Linked DNA regions of Homo sapiens: region 2 is linked to region 1. The links are contacts of gene promoters, found by promoter capture Hi-C in blood cells and fetal thymus (Javierre and others, 2016). All regions are on one chromosome and are shown on one strand. Each heading gives the region's core, a stretch centred on a gene start or on the middle of the fragment in contact. The rest is flanking DNA. Distances are from core to core; before and after follow the strand shown. Region 1 holds the start of RBMX (RNA binding motif protein X-linked). Region 2 has its middle 35 kb from the start of MIR934.

The links. The method cuts DNA at HindIII sites, captures the fragments that hold promoters and counts their contacts. A CHiCAGO score of 5 or more calls a contact.
Region 2: a fragment that was not itself captured here is called in contact with the fragment with the promoter of RBMX in region 1 in 1 of 17 cell types (non-activated CD4 T cells); the score reaches 6.8 in non-activated CD4 T cells.

What each region holds. Positions count from the first base shown.
Region 1 is chrX:136,877,614-136,885,407 of GRCh38, reverse strand. It overlaps RBMX (RNA binding motif protein X-linked), which reads left to right and starts at 4,683. Exons shown (of 9, transcript NM_002139.4): 1 at 4,683-4,811; 2 at 5,955-6,089; 3 at 6,285-6,391; 4 at 7,322-7,493. The coding sequence starts at 5,981. It overlaps SNORD61 (small nucleolar RNA, C/D box 61), which reads left to right and starts at 6,137; the gene lies at 6,137-6,209. RefSeq lists enhancers at 4,560-5,158, 4,828-5,287, 5,298-5,357, 5,159-5,758. The HindIII fragment of the contact is 13,799 bases long and covers 1-7,794 here.
Region 2 is chrX:136,581,516-136,589,309 of GRCh38, reverse strand. It overlaps the pseudogene RNU6-320P. Among named protein-coding and RNA genes, the nearest start is that of MIR934, 35 kb to the right of the region's middle. RefSeq lists enhancers at 1,116-1,175, 2,618-2,687, 2,778-2,907. The HindIII fragment of the contact is 1,696 bases long and covers 4,219-5,914 here.

The DNA of each region.
Region 1 (7,794 bases), core at 3,434-5,933:
AAGAGCTTGCAAGTCAATTCAGCCATTTATTTAGCACTGATTATATTCCAAGATTACCTAGTAGTGAAGTAATATCGTTTGACTCAGTGTATCCGTCGATCACTGAGATGGCATCTGAAGACAAAATAATAAGGCAAAGGGAAAATTATAGCAAAGAGAAAAACGCAACTACATTTAATGACAATATAAAAGAGTAAATAGAAAGAGGCAAAGAGAAAAATCTAGAAGATCCATGAGGAGGAGGGATGGGATTCGGAAATTACTTTTGGGCAGTGTGAGACCTGCTTATCCAACTGCCTGTTGGCCAGAGTCCCTCACACTCAGCACGCCCACGTCCCCCCTCTCCTGCATTACATCAGCAATACCCTTCTGATTTGTCTCCCTGCTTCCTGTCTCTCCCTCCCCCAATACAGTCTCCAGACTGCAACCACAGTAATCTCATTAAGATGAAATCTGATTACCTTACTCCACCTCTTAAAAAGGCTCCCCTCTCGGCCAGGCTCAGTGGCTCACGCCTGTAATCCCAGCACTTTGGGAGGCCGAGGTGGGTGGATCACCTGAGGTCAGGAGTTCGAGACCAGCCTGGCCAACATGGCGAAACCCCGTCTCTACTAAAAGTACAAAAATTAGCCTGGCATGGTGGTGGACACCTGTAATCCCAGCTACTTGGGAGGCTGAGACAGGAGAATCGCTTGAACCCGGGGGGCGGAGGTTGCAGTGAGCTGGGATTGCGCCACTTCACTCCAGCCTGGTCGAAAGAGCGAAACACCGTCTCAAAAAAAAAAAAAAGGCTCCCCTCTCCATTGCCCTCTAGATCTAGTCAGTAGCACTCTGCTTCCCCCACAAGCTGCTTCTTTTTCCTCTCTGTCCTGGACGATATGGCCAACTGATCCCCTCCTACAATTCCTTTAACTTAGCCATCCCCACCCCACCCACTCGCTTTTGGTCCTTGGGAATTGTGTTTGCATCCAACACCGCCAGCATGCTACTTCTCCTCCCCCACATTCCTGGGTGTGAACTGCAGAGGCCAAAGTGAGCTGGTCTACGGGGATGCACATTTCCTTTTTGAGACCCAGGAGGACAGGGTTATCTATTGTCGAGCCTGCCCCATTTTGCCCTAGACTAGAGGAGACCTGATTTACACTCAGAGCCTAGAGGAGAGTCCTGTAGTCTCTCTTTGGATTTGAGACAGAGAAAGAGAGTGCCTGCTTCCACAGGGTGAGGGATTTCTCCTGGCTACCTCTGGGAGTACAAGTTCTGCTTGCTGAGCCTGGTATTTAAGCCATTTTTGCCAGTTCCCAAATGACTCCAGAGTCTATAATTTACAGAACTCATTCAAAAGGCAAATGGACATGAGTTTTGCCTTACTTTTTATTATTTGGCTGGGGGAAAAAAAACAAGAACAAATATTCTTGTCCTACTGGGCATTACTCCCCCTATTAATGTTAATAATTCAGAGCTGGTTTCGAAGCTCCTTGGGGGCTTTTACCCGTGACCTGAATATTATTTACTACAACCTGCCTGGCATATACCAAAATTCACCATGGGCAGGTAATTGTAACTATGAAGAAGAAAAGGCCCGGCACGGTGGCTCAGGCCTGTAATCTCAGCACTTTGGGAGGGCGAGGCGGGCGTATCACCTGAGGTCAGGAGTTTGAGACCAGCCTGGCCAACATGGTGAAACTCTGTCTCTACTAAAAATACAAAATTAGCCGGGCATGGTGGCGTATGCCTGTAATCCCAGCTACTCAGGAGGCGGAGACGGGAGAATCGCTTGAACCCGGGAGGCAGAGGTTGCAGTGACCCAAGATCGCACCAGTGCACTCTAGCCTGGGCAATGAGAGCGAACCTCTTTCTCAAAAAAACAAAAAAACAAACAAAAAAAAAAGGAGAAGAAGAAGAAGAAAAGTGAAAATTGTCCATAAATTCTACCACTCCAAGATAAACTGGTAACATTTTGGCATATTTCCTCCCAGTTATTTTGTCTCCATATGTATTTTTTTAATAGCTCATATTATGTGATCTTGGGCCTTCTTTTCCCACTGTACTCTCTTGTTTGGTGGTTTCATTCATTCTGATGGCTTTTATTACATCTCTGAGATGATAATTTAGCACAGATCTATGCTCTGAGCTTCAGATTTTTCTGCCCCTATATCCCAAACTTGCTCCTCTGAAACCATTTTGGTAAATGACTGTTACCATCTGTCCCACTAATACCAGATACTTGGAGTCATCCATAATGATTTTCTTTTTCCGCAATTCTTCCCCACCCCTTTCCCATCTGTCTTAGTCCATTCCTGCTACTATAACAAAATACCATAAACTGGCTGGCTTATAAACAACAGAAATTTATTTCTCACATTTTTGTAGGCTGGGAAGTCCAAGATAAAGACGCCAGCATATTCAGTGTCTGGTGAGGGCCCACCACCACCAGTTTTCTGGTTCATATAAGTGGCACCTCACTGTGTTCTCACATGGTGGACAGGGGCCTCTTTTATAAAAGTGTTAATCCCATTCATGAGGACCCTACCCTTTTGTGACCTAATCTTCTCCCCAAATCCCCGCCTCCTAATGCCATCACCTTGGGTATTAGGATTTCAACATATGAATTTGGGGGAGGACACAAACATTTAGACCATAGCACCATTAAACACGATACCTATCATATTCATCTAACAATTGTTCTTTCCTCCCCGTGTCCACTGCCGCCACCCTGATTCAAGCCACCATCCTCTCTTTCTGGTCTGCTCCCACAGCCCTATTAGTGTCCTTTTTCCCACACTTACCCCCTACAGTCATTTAATGGGCTCAAAGGTCCTGCCAATCTTGGCTCCCTCATTTCATGCCCCTCATATTCTTGTCACCTGGCCCTCTTTCTGTCCCTTGATATATGCCAAGCTCTTCCTCTCTACTTTGTGTTTACTATTCTCTTCTTTTCCTGAAGGTTTTTCCCTCAGCTGTTCCCATAGCTAGTTTCTTTTCTTCCTTCAGCTCTGATCTCCAAAGTCACCTCTTCACATAGACCTTCCCTGATGTTTTAATCAAATTTGTTCTCCCTAATATTGTCCATCAAAGCAACTAGTTTATTTCCTCCCTGGCATTAATCACAACATGCCATTCTTTTGTTAATTGTATTCAATTTCTTTAAGAAAAAAATTAAAAAATTTTTTGGTTTCCCCCCTCAACAAGTAGGATGGGCAGATGAAATATAGAATGCTCAGTTAAATTTGAATTTCCGATAAACAGCGAATTTTTAAAATATGAGATTTGGGACATACTATACTAAAAAAAGTATTCGTTATCTGAAATTTAAACTTAACTGGGCGTCCCTTTTTTTTTTTTTAGACGAAGTCTCGCTCTGTTGCCAGGCTGGAGTGCAGTGGTATGATCTTGGCTCACTGCAACCGCCGCCTCCTGGGTTCAAGCAATTCTCCTGCCTCAGCCTCCCGAGTAGCTGGGACTACAGGCACACGCCGCCACGCCCGGCTAATTTTTTTATTTTTTATTTTTATTTTAGTAGAGACGGGGTTTCACCATGTTGCCCAGGCTGGTCTCAAACCCCTGAGCTCAGGCAATCTGCCCGCCTCGGCCTCCCAAAGTGCTAGGATTACAGGCATGAGCCACCGCGCCCCGGCCGCGTCCCATATTTTTATTTAAAATTTTTTAACAGCTTCGCAGAATAAATTAGCGTCCCGCATTTTCTTTTTTATTTTGAGACGGAGTCTCGCTCTGTCGCCTGCCCAGGCTGGAGTGCGGTGGCGCAGTCTTGGCTCACTGCAACCTCCGCCTCCCGGATTCTCCTGCCTCAGCCTCCCGAGTAGCTGGGACTACAGGCGCGTGCCACCACGCCTGGGTAATTTTTTGTATTTTTAAAAAGAGACGGGGTTTCACCGTGTTAGCCAGGATGGTCTCCATCTCCTGACTTCGTGATCCACCGACCTTGGCCTCCCAAAGTGCTGGGATTACAGGCGTGAGCCACTGCACCCGGCCTGGTATTTTCATTTATTAAATCCGGCATCCTTACCCACAGGCCTGACTCTTGTCTTTTCCCTGGAGTTGTATTTTCCTGGCCTAGCCCAGAGCCCACCATTTACAAGGTGCTCAGTAATTGTTCTATATGAATGTACTATCTGCATGCTGTTTTGTACGTTTTTTACTCATCTGAAATTTACATGTATTTATCAGAAATTCCCACACTCACTAAAAACACTTGTTAAAGACAATTTTTGAAAATATATTATATTGCCAAAACTTCTTTGTTTTCCGTTTCTGCAAAATTGGTATAGTAGGAGTATCTACCCTCATCACATTTTGACAATTAGAAGAGTTAATGGAAAAGTAAAAGTAAAGTTTTGCACCGTGCCCGGCCCACTAGGACGCTCAATAAACTTCAGTTCTTTATTAAAGGAAGCCTGTGCACCATTTTAGCGTAAAGCAAAAAAAGCGCGTTTGTAAAGAACGGGTGGGGGTAGAGAAAACGGTTAGAAAGGTCTGTCGACCCAACACCGAGGGCCCGGGAAAAAGGGAGGAGAGAAGGGTGAATGACAGAGGAGCCAGCCAATGGGGAGACTGGGAACTACTTCCCCCCTCCCTTTGCGTTTCAAATTCTAAGCTCCGTTTCCATCCGGGTCCTTCAGCCTCGTTCCCGGGCAGTATAAAGTTTGCTGTCTCCTTTGTTCGCCCTCGTTGCGCAGTAGTGCTAGCGGCTTCGCGGTTCGGTCCTCGCACCCGGCAGCCGCCACTGGTGCTGAGCTGCTAGGAAGCCCCTATCGCCGAGCTCGTTGGAGCTTGAACCCATTGTCACCCCTCCGGTACGTGTCTCCTTTCCTCAGTCCGTTTTTCGTGACACTCTCCCCGTGTTAGGACTGGGGATTATATCTCCCTGGAGATGGGGGTGGCGGGCGCCATTTTAAGAACCCAAAGGTTCCGACCTATTTAAATAAAGCTGAGGGGGTCGAGGGAAAACAAATGAGGGGGCCCGTTTGGTTGTATGCTTCTCGAGAAAGTTTGGCTGCCATCTGCGGGAGTTGGTAGCGGAGGTCGGGGCTTTGTAGGCTGGAGCGGGGCGAGGAGCGACCGCACCACGGCGATACCTGCATTGGTATGGCGCTGGCGCTAATGATGGGCATGTGGACTTCCATGCGGGCTGCGGGCTTCGTATTCATTGGCGGCCCCGGAGAAGAAGCCCTCTGAATGTTCCCAGCCAATGTTGGTGGTAAAAGTTAGTCCCCTGACCAGTGTCGGTGGTTCTGGGTTGAATCCAAGTGTCGCCATTTTGTCTTTTACACGCGGTTTTTAATGACGAGTTTTAATTAGGTTCCGCTGCAGTCACGGAGTGTCGAGTGTTAGTGTGTGCGTCCGCGTTCCGTTACTTAATAGCAAACGATGTTGACGATTTGTTTTTATCTTTTTGGCCGGATAGTAGAATTTTCGGTAGGGCGGGGGCCGGTGAAGAAGAGGGGCGGCATAACTTGGCTTAAACTTCACATTTCTCCTTGGATTTAGTAGGGAATCCTAATGAGGAAAAGAGGAGTCGTTGGAAGAGGGCTTGGTGTTAAGGTCCTGTGTCTAGCCTGTGACCTTGGGAGTCTTTTAAAACCATCGTTAGGAAGGGTGTGATGAGTAATTGAATCTTTCAAAGGCAAGAGGACTGGAACTAAAAGTTGCTTTTTCAAATGTTAAGCAGCTGTTGCTTAAGAACAGCTAAGGGTGATCAAGGGTAGTGGTAAAAGTTAAGTTGGCCCTTTTAACCAGTTTTATGTAAATTGCAGTGTTACTAAACTACTTAGTTCAAATTGCTTCCTACTGTGGCTGAGGCTTAGCTCGTTATCGTTTTCTTTAGTTATTAAGGAACAATGGTTTTAGTGGAAAATATGAGAAATGTGCGAAAGTAAAAGTGTCCAATAAACTTGAGGAACTTTTTGCAGTGAGGTAATACTATTCCTTTTCAACAGACTCACCGGCCCAAAAAAAAAAAAACATGGTTGAAGCAGATCGCCCAGGAAAGCTCTTCATTGGTGGGCTTAATACGGAAACAAATGAGAAAGCTCTTGAAGCAGTATTTGGCAAATATGGACGAATAGTGGAAGGTGAGTTGTCTGGCAGTACAGGCTGGGCTATTATAATTAAAATATAAGCTATGATGAATTTGATTGCATTGATCGTCTGACATGATAATGTATTTTTGTCCTCTAAGAAGTTCTGAGCTTTCTGTTTACACATTTACTTTGGTTATTTCATTTGACCTAGGGTAACACTTTATTTTTCTGAAAACTACTTTTTAGTACTCTTGATGAAAGACCGTGAAACCAACAAATCAAGAGGATTTGCTTTTGTCACCTTTGAAAGCCCAGCAGACGCTAAGGATGCAGCCAGAGACATGAATGGAAAGGTGAGATTGTCTACACGATGGATGATAACCTGTTACTAGTGCATAAAATAACATGTAGTTGTCCAAGTCTGGTCTAGGACAGCTTTTGAGTTTTCGTTGTTTTTCAGTATATACCTGTCTGGGATCCACTCATCCTGTTTGTGATCCTGTTCCAAAGAGTATTCTGTAATTGCAGAACCAAATCTAGTAGTGAGTTATATCTTATGCTCGTAACATTCTCTCAGTTCAGAATAATTATGGCATTACATGGTACTTTTTTTTTTTTTTTTTTGATAGTCTCCCTCCGTTGCCTAGCCTGGAGTGCAATGGTGCAGTGCCCACTGCAGCCTGTCTCCCGAGTTCTAAGCGATTTTTCTGCCTCAGCCCCCCCCCCCCCCCCCAGTAGCTGGGATTACAGGCATGCGCGACCACGCCCGGCTAACTTTGTATTTTTAGTAGAGACAGGGTTTCACCATGTTGGCCAGGCTGGTCTCAAACTCCTGACTTCAGGTGATCCAGCTGCCTCCGCCTCCCAAAGTACTGGGATTACAGGTGTGAGACACTGCGAGCCACTGCGCCCAGCCAACATGATACATTTTATCTTGAGATCCATAAGCCATATTTTGATAACTTGGCTTTTGGTTTTGGCTACTAGTTTTGATAACAAGCTGATACCTACTTGGCCTTGTTTTAAATTTTACCATACAATAATGCAGTGGGTTCACCTTATGTTTCAATCCAGATCATCAGTATCGGTTTTAAGTATTAAGAATTTTAAGCGGAAAAGCCCCATTTATGTAAACTGACTATATTTGCAGTGTTTTTTCTTAGACTAATGAGCAACACTTACCCATAACTGCATTTTGAAGGACCAGTTAGTGTCTTAGTGCATAGTAGATGTGCAAATTATTTTTAAATCTTGATTTAATTTAATCGTATCTTTTTTTTTAGTCATTAGATGGAAAAGCCATCAAGGTGGAACAAGCCACCAAACCATCATTTGAAAGTGGTAGACGTGGACCGCCTCCACCTCCAAGAAGTAGAGGCCCTCCAAGAGGTCTTAGAGGTGGAAGAGGAGGAAGTGGAGGAACCAGGGGACCTCCCTCACGGGGAGGACACATGGGTAATAACTTGCGTGGACCTCGGGTTTGGTGTATAAGTTAGGGACTGCAAGCTCACACCAAGTGGATGCTTTGGTTAAGTCCTTGAGGAAAGGTGCCAACTTTTGAAATTGACAACACTTGTTCATCTACCAAAGTGATTGCCAATTGAAAGCATGGGAAGCATGTTTTAGATTATGGTGTTAAACCGTGGACAGTGTTACTTCTTGTCCAAGTAGTTCACTCTGTAGGAAAGGCATTTAAAAATTGATAGGCCAGGGTGTTGGACATGAAAATGAAATCATTTTTATTTTTTAAAGTTAG
Region 2 (7,794 bases), core at 3,817-6,316, 300 kb after region 1:
CAGAACTTTGGGAGACTGAGGTGGGCGGATCATTTCAAGTCAGGAGTTTGAGACGAGCCTGGCCAACATGGTGAAACCCCATCTTTACTAAAAAACAAAACAAAACAGAAACAAAAATTAGTGTGGTGTGGTGGCACATGCCTGTAATTCCAGCTACTCAGGAGGCTGAGGCAAGAGGATTGCTTGAACCCCAGTGGCGGAGGTTGCAATGACCCAAGATTGCGCTACTGCACTTCAGACTGGGTAATAGAGCAAGACCCTGTCTCAGAAACAACAACAACAACACCCAAACTGTGTAATTGTTAGTTTAGTGCTTTTTTTCCTCCTAGATGGTACGCTCTGTGAGGACAGGGACTGTGTCCATCTTAGTCACTGCTTACCAGGGACTCCTAGCTCAGAACCCGGCACATAGTGAGTGTCAGTTAATATTTCTGAATTAATTTCATTTTCCCACCCATCCTTTATCTGAACTAGCTGAATGGGTTTCTATTTCTTGCAAACAAGAAAGTTAAGAAGAATTTGCCGGATGCAGTGGCTCATGCCTGTTATCCCAGCGCTTTGGGAGCCTGAGGTGGGAGGATTTCTTGAGCCTAGGAGTTTGAGACCAGCTTGGGCAACATGGAGAGAACTCTGTCTCTACAAAAAAATGACAAAATTAGCCAGGCATGGTGGTGTGTGTCCGTGGTCTCAGCTACTCAGGAGGCTGAGGTGGGAGGATTGCTTAAGCCCTGGAGGTCAAGGCTGCAGTGTGCTGTGATTCACCACTGCACTCCAACCTGGGCGACAGAGCAAGACCCTGTCCAAATAAATAAATAAATAAATAATAAATAAATTTATTTTTGTAACAAAAAGAAGGATGTAAAGGATTAAAGAAAACTCAGAGTCTCTGGGAAATCTTAGCACAGGTTTCTTTTCAAGAGTTTATTTGCCAAGGCATTCATCCTGTTTGTAACACTAAGGGCCTACGTTTCAGACTCTGAGTGCTTGCACAACTAGATCTGCTCCCTCTTCTCAGCCTCAGGGTAAAATGTTACACTACTTCTTTCCTCACCTCCATTCTAGTTTCATTTTTAGGTTGCTAATCTGACCTTTAGTTTTGTTTTTTTTTTTGTTTTTTTTTTTAATGAGGCACTAAATGCAAAGAGAAAGTAGGTATTTTCCCCAGATGTTATTTTACCAAAGTGAGACAACATCATTTCTTAGATTTTCTGTAGTTAGGGACTTGAGAGCAGTTCAAAGTCCCCATTCCTCATACACATACCAGAATATAATCTATCCTTATCTCACAGCCAATTTTTCTTGGAAAAGTTAATTTGTGGTGTTGAAAAGGGAATATTGTTTATGCTTTGTCCATGAAACTGAAGGGCTTAGCAAACACCAGACTTCTGAATATAGGATTTAATAATTATCTCCCCAAATGAGGTCTTTATTCCCATTTAGTTCAGAATTTAACAAATGCACTCAATTCCCTTCTCCCCCAACACCTGTAGTATTCAGGCAGAACTTCAAAGCCCTCAGCCAGGGCTATTATAAGCAAAGCCCCGTGATAGGTGGGAGGCTGCACTAGAAACTAAGATCCCCACTCACAAGGCAATATTTCAAGGATTGCACAATCTCAAGAGTGAAGCATTTCTTGAGAATACATTTTTAAAACATTGATTACTCTTCTATGCTGATTGTATTGGCAATATATTTTAATATATAAGAAGACATTACTTTTCTACCTCCATTCCAGGAACGGTGGCTACTCCTAGTTCTCTTTTGATCTCCGTGGTAAGATGCCACATCACCTCCTCCAGGAAGCCTTACTCTACCCCCACCAGCCCTGTGCCCTCCTCTGTGCCCCTACAGCAGTCCCAGTAGACCCCACAGAGCACTTGACCCTTCACTCCCTTTCTCCTGTTTCCTTTTAACTGAGAGCCCCTGAGAGCAAAACCCACATCTTTTTCATTCGATCAATTCTGCCCTATCTTGCCTCTGGGCCTTCACTCCTAATTATCTTTCAGAGCTTTGCTTCAAGCACCTGCCTCCTGTGTGAAGCCTTTCACAACACTTTCCCATGTTCTCCTACCATGGGCTATAATCCCACAGCCATGGGGCCCACTGGATTTACTGTAATCTATTTGCTAGAATGTCTCCAGGTGTGCTAATAAATGTTTAATAACTGATTTTATGAAAGGAAAAAAGAAAACATTCCAAGTTTATAGTGATTGCCAATTTCCACTGTGTAAATATTCCCACCATGACCAATTTCAAGCTACCGACGTGAGGCTACACATTGATTTGGGTAGAAATGCCCAGTAGTACAGCATTATACAGCATTTCCATCAGACTGCTACAATAGCTATAGATCACCTCAAGAGCATATATAATAAGCAATGGCAGTAAAATAATTAGGAAGTGATACATTTTGAGTGTTTCTTACCTTTGTTTGAAATGTATTTTAATTGCAGGCTTATAGAATTTTATTTTTAATAAGTTTGTGTTTAACGACTGACTGGCAAAAATTTCTAAACATCTATCAACTCTCATGAATCAGTAGCAATGGGCTCCAGTGCATCACTGTTTGTATCTCTGACTAGACTGTGAACTTGAGAACTGGGACTGGGACTGTGCTGCTCATGGCACCTCCAACACCTAACACAGAGGAGGCACTGTGTAATGTTCATTGGCGGCAGCCAGGCATATCCATCCTTTTGTCCTCACTTTAAAAGGAGTTAAGAGAAAGTTCAGTGTGCTGTTTAACCACAAAGGCCACTTGGCAAATGCTCTAGAGGAAGCCATACCAACCTCAGCTAAGAACGAGGTCAGATCTCCGTCATACATAGTACTTTATTGCCAACTTCCTACATGTTAAGCTAGTGTGCCACTCCCTACTGAGAAACAAACAAGGCTCTGCTAAGTGTTTTATCCTTTCCTTGAGGGGTTAGCACCAGCTTACTTCCTAAAGAAGCAAGCCAAGATAGCACAGGTCTGATATTAATGCCAAATTCACACAAAATCCCATGTGGCAAAAGAGAATTCTTGCCTTTCTAAGCCTCAGACACTGACCCAATTATTTTAAGATCCATTGGCATTCACTGAATTCCAGCACAACAGGAGAATTTAACATTTCTCTGCGGTTTCTTAAAATGGTTTTGACTACCCTAGAGCACCAGGCCAGCCACCAGCAGGATAGAATGACAGGAATAGTCACAGTGTGTTAGAGGTCAAATCCCTAAGCCTACCTCTTAACTACTGGTGGAACTCTCTAGAAATGAACTTTTCATAATCATAGCAATGGTTAATATGCCACGAGTGCTATCTACCTCTGTGCCAAGCACCGTGTTAGACCATCCTCATAGACTAATTAATGAGGCCTCACATAAAGTCCTCAAGCAGTGGCACCCTCATTTAAATTGTCAGTTTGCTGGGGCTGTTGCCAATCCAGTAAGGCCGGACTGTAGCTGGGATAAAAAGGTTTCACTTCATTAAGCACCAAAATAATGCCATGGCTCTCTAAGAAATCATACTTGTGGGGAAAAGTCTCCTCTCAGTGACCATTTTTCCTTTTTGCCAATATGATGCCATACAAACTGGCAGATGTGGCTTCCTCAATGGGCATGACGAAGTCACCTTGAATTGCTCCATTGAGAAGCATGGCAAAAAGTGATTCCATGGGCTCAGCTTTGCCCTTGTCTGACATCCGTTCAGAGAGTTAAAATTCGTTGGCTTTTCAGGGCAGTGGGTGACATTACCCATGGTCCTCTACAGATCTTCAATAAGTTGACATTTCAAATCATTTGAATAAATCAAAGTGACAGAGGCACCTTAAGTTGCTGAGTTGGGGAGATGATTATAGAGAGCGAAAGACACATTTTCATTTTATTGCTGATGAGCAAAATAAGTAAAATTTGAAAAGGAAGTGGGATGCCTTGTGGGAGGAACCTTCTCAGGAAGAGGACTGCAAGTGGTACCTCTGTCTTGCCAGTGATAAACTGGTGCAGAAACGTTTCCAAACTATTCATCATGTGCACCCTAAAAACCCGATATGTAGAATCTGCACTATCCCTGAAAACAAGAGAGTCCCTGATTTGGTAAATCTTAACCCTGGAATACAAGCTTTCAGTATCACTTGGAGAAGTGAATCCAGTTTCCCTTAAGTGAAACTTGAGCCTTGGTCCCTCATAGCTATTGACCCTTATCTTCTGCAAAAGACCACTGGTGAAAACACAAGCTTAGTTGCTCTTCTATTTGTGTACAGAAATAGCCTAACTCTGCTTTCAAGCTGCTTTGTTCAAAATGTGCTAAGGATTTGTTGAGTGAATAAAAAAAGCAAGCAAGCAAGCAAACAAACAAAACTTTATTTTTTTTTCTTATTTCTCTAGAAAACTGGTAAACAAACAAACAAAACTTTAAATCAGACTGCAATTTAGGTCAAAAGTTAGAAAATATATTTGCAGTGCCTAATTCAGGAAGGAAGATCTTTTTCATGCTAATCTACTGCTAATTATAAAATAGGTGATAGCAAGCATTGTGAAGAGCTAAAAAGGAGGGGGTGGGGGCAGTGCTACTTCATAATTTAGTCACCCTTGATTGGAAAGTGGGCGTTTTAAGATTTGACACCAAACCCCAGCGAGTTACTCTGTAGCATGAGTTTCTCTCACTTCGGACTTTCAGTTTGGACACAGAAAGAACAGGGCAAAAAGTAAAGCCAGAAGGGATGATTTTTAAATGGCAAACTGCAAATAAGGATAGGTTTCAGGCTCCGTTGCAAATAGAGGTGGAATAATGAGAATAAGCTCTGTAAGGCCTGAAGGGAAGGAAACACATGGAGGTGGTCAGCTCCGTGCCCAACAAAATGCCCTTGAAGAAGCCTTTATGATCCTGGGTATAAGAAGAAGGTGGGGGGGAGCACTAAACCATTCTAAGACGAAGTTGTAACATTGACAATGTTGACTCCCTAGAACCAAGTCAGGGGAAGTATGTTTGGAGTCTAAGAAGCACAGTCATGTGTTGCATAATGATGAGGGTACATTCTGAAAAATGTGTCATTAGGTGATTTTGTTGTGTGAACAGCACAGAGTGCACTTACACAAACATAGGTGGTATAGCCTACTACACACCCAGGCTATATGGTGTGGCCTATTGCTCCTAGGCTACGAACCTGAACAGCATGTTGCTATGTTGAATACTGTAGGCAATGGGAACACAATGGTAAGTATTTATGTATCGAACATATCTAAATATAGAAAAGGCACAGTAAAAATACAGTATAAAAGATTTAAAAAATTATACACCTGTATAAGGCGCTTACCACGAATGGAGCTTGCAATAGTAGAAGTTGCTCTGGTTGAGTCAGTGAGTGGGTGGTGAGTAAATGTGAAGGTCTAGGACATCACTCCATGCTACTGTAGACTTTACAAACACTGTACACTTAGGCTACACTACATTTATAAAAAATATTTTTTCTTGGCTGGACATGGTGGCTCACTCCTGTAATCCCAACACTTTGGGAGGCTGAGGTGGATGGATCGCTTAAGTTCAGGAGTTTCAGACCAGCTTGGGCAACATGGCAATACATCATCTCTACAAAAAATTTAAAAATTAGCTGTGTGTGGAGGCACACACCTGTAGTCCCAGCAACTTGAGAGGCTGAGGTGGGAGGACCACTTGAGACCAGGAGTTCAAGGCTACAATGAGCCATGATTGCATCATTGCACTCCAGTTTGGGTGACAGAGCAAGACTCCATCTCAAAAAATACATAATTTTTTTCTTTCTTCAATAACTAATTAACCTTAGCTTACTATAATTTTTTCACTTTATAAACCTTAAATTTTTTTACCTGTTTTACTGTTTTGTAATAACACTTAAACACAAATTGTACAGCTGTACAAAAATATTTTCATCATGTATATCCTTATTCTCTAAGCTTATCTACTTTAAAACTTTTACTTTTTATTATTTTTACTTATTTTTAGTTTTTTTTAATGGAACGCATCACAATTTGTGTGTCATTCTTGCACAGGAGCCATGTTACTATTCTCTGTATCACTCCAGTTTTAGTACATGGGCTGCCAAAGCAAGCGCAGTTTTGAGACTTTTTTGTTAGACTCTAAGACCAAACACACACATTAGCCTAGGCCTACACAGGGTCAGGATCATCAGTATCATGGTCTTCCATCTCCACATCTTGTTCCCCTCTGGAAGGTCTTTAGGGACAGTAACATTCACGAAGCTGTCATCTCCTACGCTAACAATTTTTTCTTCTGGAATACTTCCTGAAGGACCTGCCTGAGCTTGTTTTACACTTAACTGTTTTTTTTAATAAGTAGAAGGAGTCCGCTTGAAAATAATGATAAAAGGTATGGTATAGTAAATATCTAAACCAGTAACATAGTTGTTTATTGTCATTATCAAGTATATGTTCTATACATAGTTGTATTGCTAGTCTTTTATATGACTGGCAGAGCAATAGCTTGTTAACACTAGTGTCACAAACATGAGTAATGCATTGCATTGCATTATGGTGTTAGGGCTGCAACGTTACTATGACTACAATGCCACTAGGCAATAGGAAATTTTTAATTCCATTGTAATCTTATAGGACCACCACTGTACATGTGGTCCTGTGATTGAGCAAAACATCGTTATGGGGCACATGACTGTAGCTTTTGGGCAAGTGGGTCTCAATCCTGCCTGCATATTAGAATCACCTGGAGAGCTTATAAAACTTTTGCTGTCTGGGCTGCCGTCTGAACTAATTAAATCAGAATATTTGGGTGTGAGACCCCAAATTGGTATTTTTATTTATTTACTTTCAAAATTAGGTAATTCGATTGATTGATTTACCTACTTATAGCTGTCAGTATTTTCGAAACATTCGAAACACACAGTATTTCAATGTGCAGTCAAGGTTGAGAACCATGAATTAAACAGCAACAAAGCAGAGTTGTAAAAAGGACTCTAATGTGTGTTTAGTTTTGTGTTTCCTCAAATGGTGCTTTCTCTTACAGCTGGCATGCAATATGGGCAATTAGTGTTAGTGTTCATCTTAGTCCATTTGGACTGCTATAACAGAATTCTATAGACTGGGTGGCTTATAAACAACAGAAATTTATTTCTTCCAGTTTTGAAGCCTAGGAAGCTCAAGATCAATATGCCAACAGATTCAGTGTCTAGTGAGGGCCCACTTTCCAGTTCATACATGGTGGTGTTCTCTGTGTTCTCACATGACAGAAGAGTCAAATGAGCTCTCTGGGGCCTCTTTTATAAGAGCACTAATTCCATTTATGAGGCCTTCACCTTCATGACCTATTCACCTCCCAAATGCCCCACATCCTAAATACCATCACATTGGAGATTACGTTTTAACATGTGAATTTGGAGGGACACAAACATTTAGTCTATAGCAGTGTTGGTAAGTCATTTTAGTATTGAGATATATGTAAGGAGAATACCTCATCAAGGGGCCAAGTCTGGGGCCGGACATTGGGCAGGCAGTTGGCTGGGAAGCTGATGCCTTTCTCAGAGATGGGTTCCTGAGAGCCTGTAGGCTTGACACTTGGTGTAGTTGGACAATCCATTGCTACCAGGTGATCAAAGTGGAGCTAAGGTATGAGAGTCAGGTAGGCAGGTAGGTAGGTAGAGAGTTGTCAGAGCAGGCAGAGTGTACCTGGGATTCAAGGTTAAGATAGGGTGGAGAGGTGTACAACATGAAAGCTCCAGAGATCAGATGAGCATTGGAATGGGCTCAGGGAAGGAAGGTGCTTCGATTTGCCTATACTTGAGTCCTTTATTCAAGCGCAGGCAGT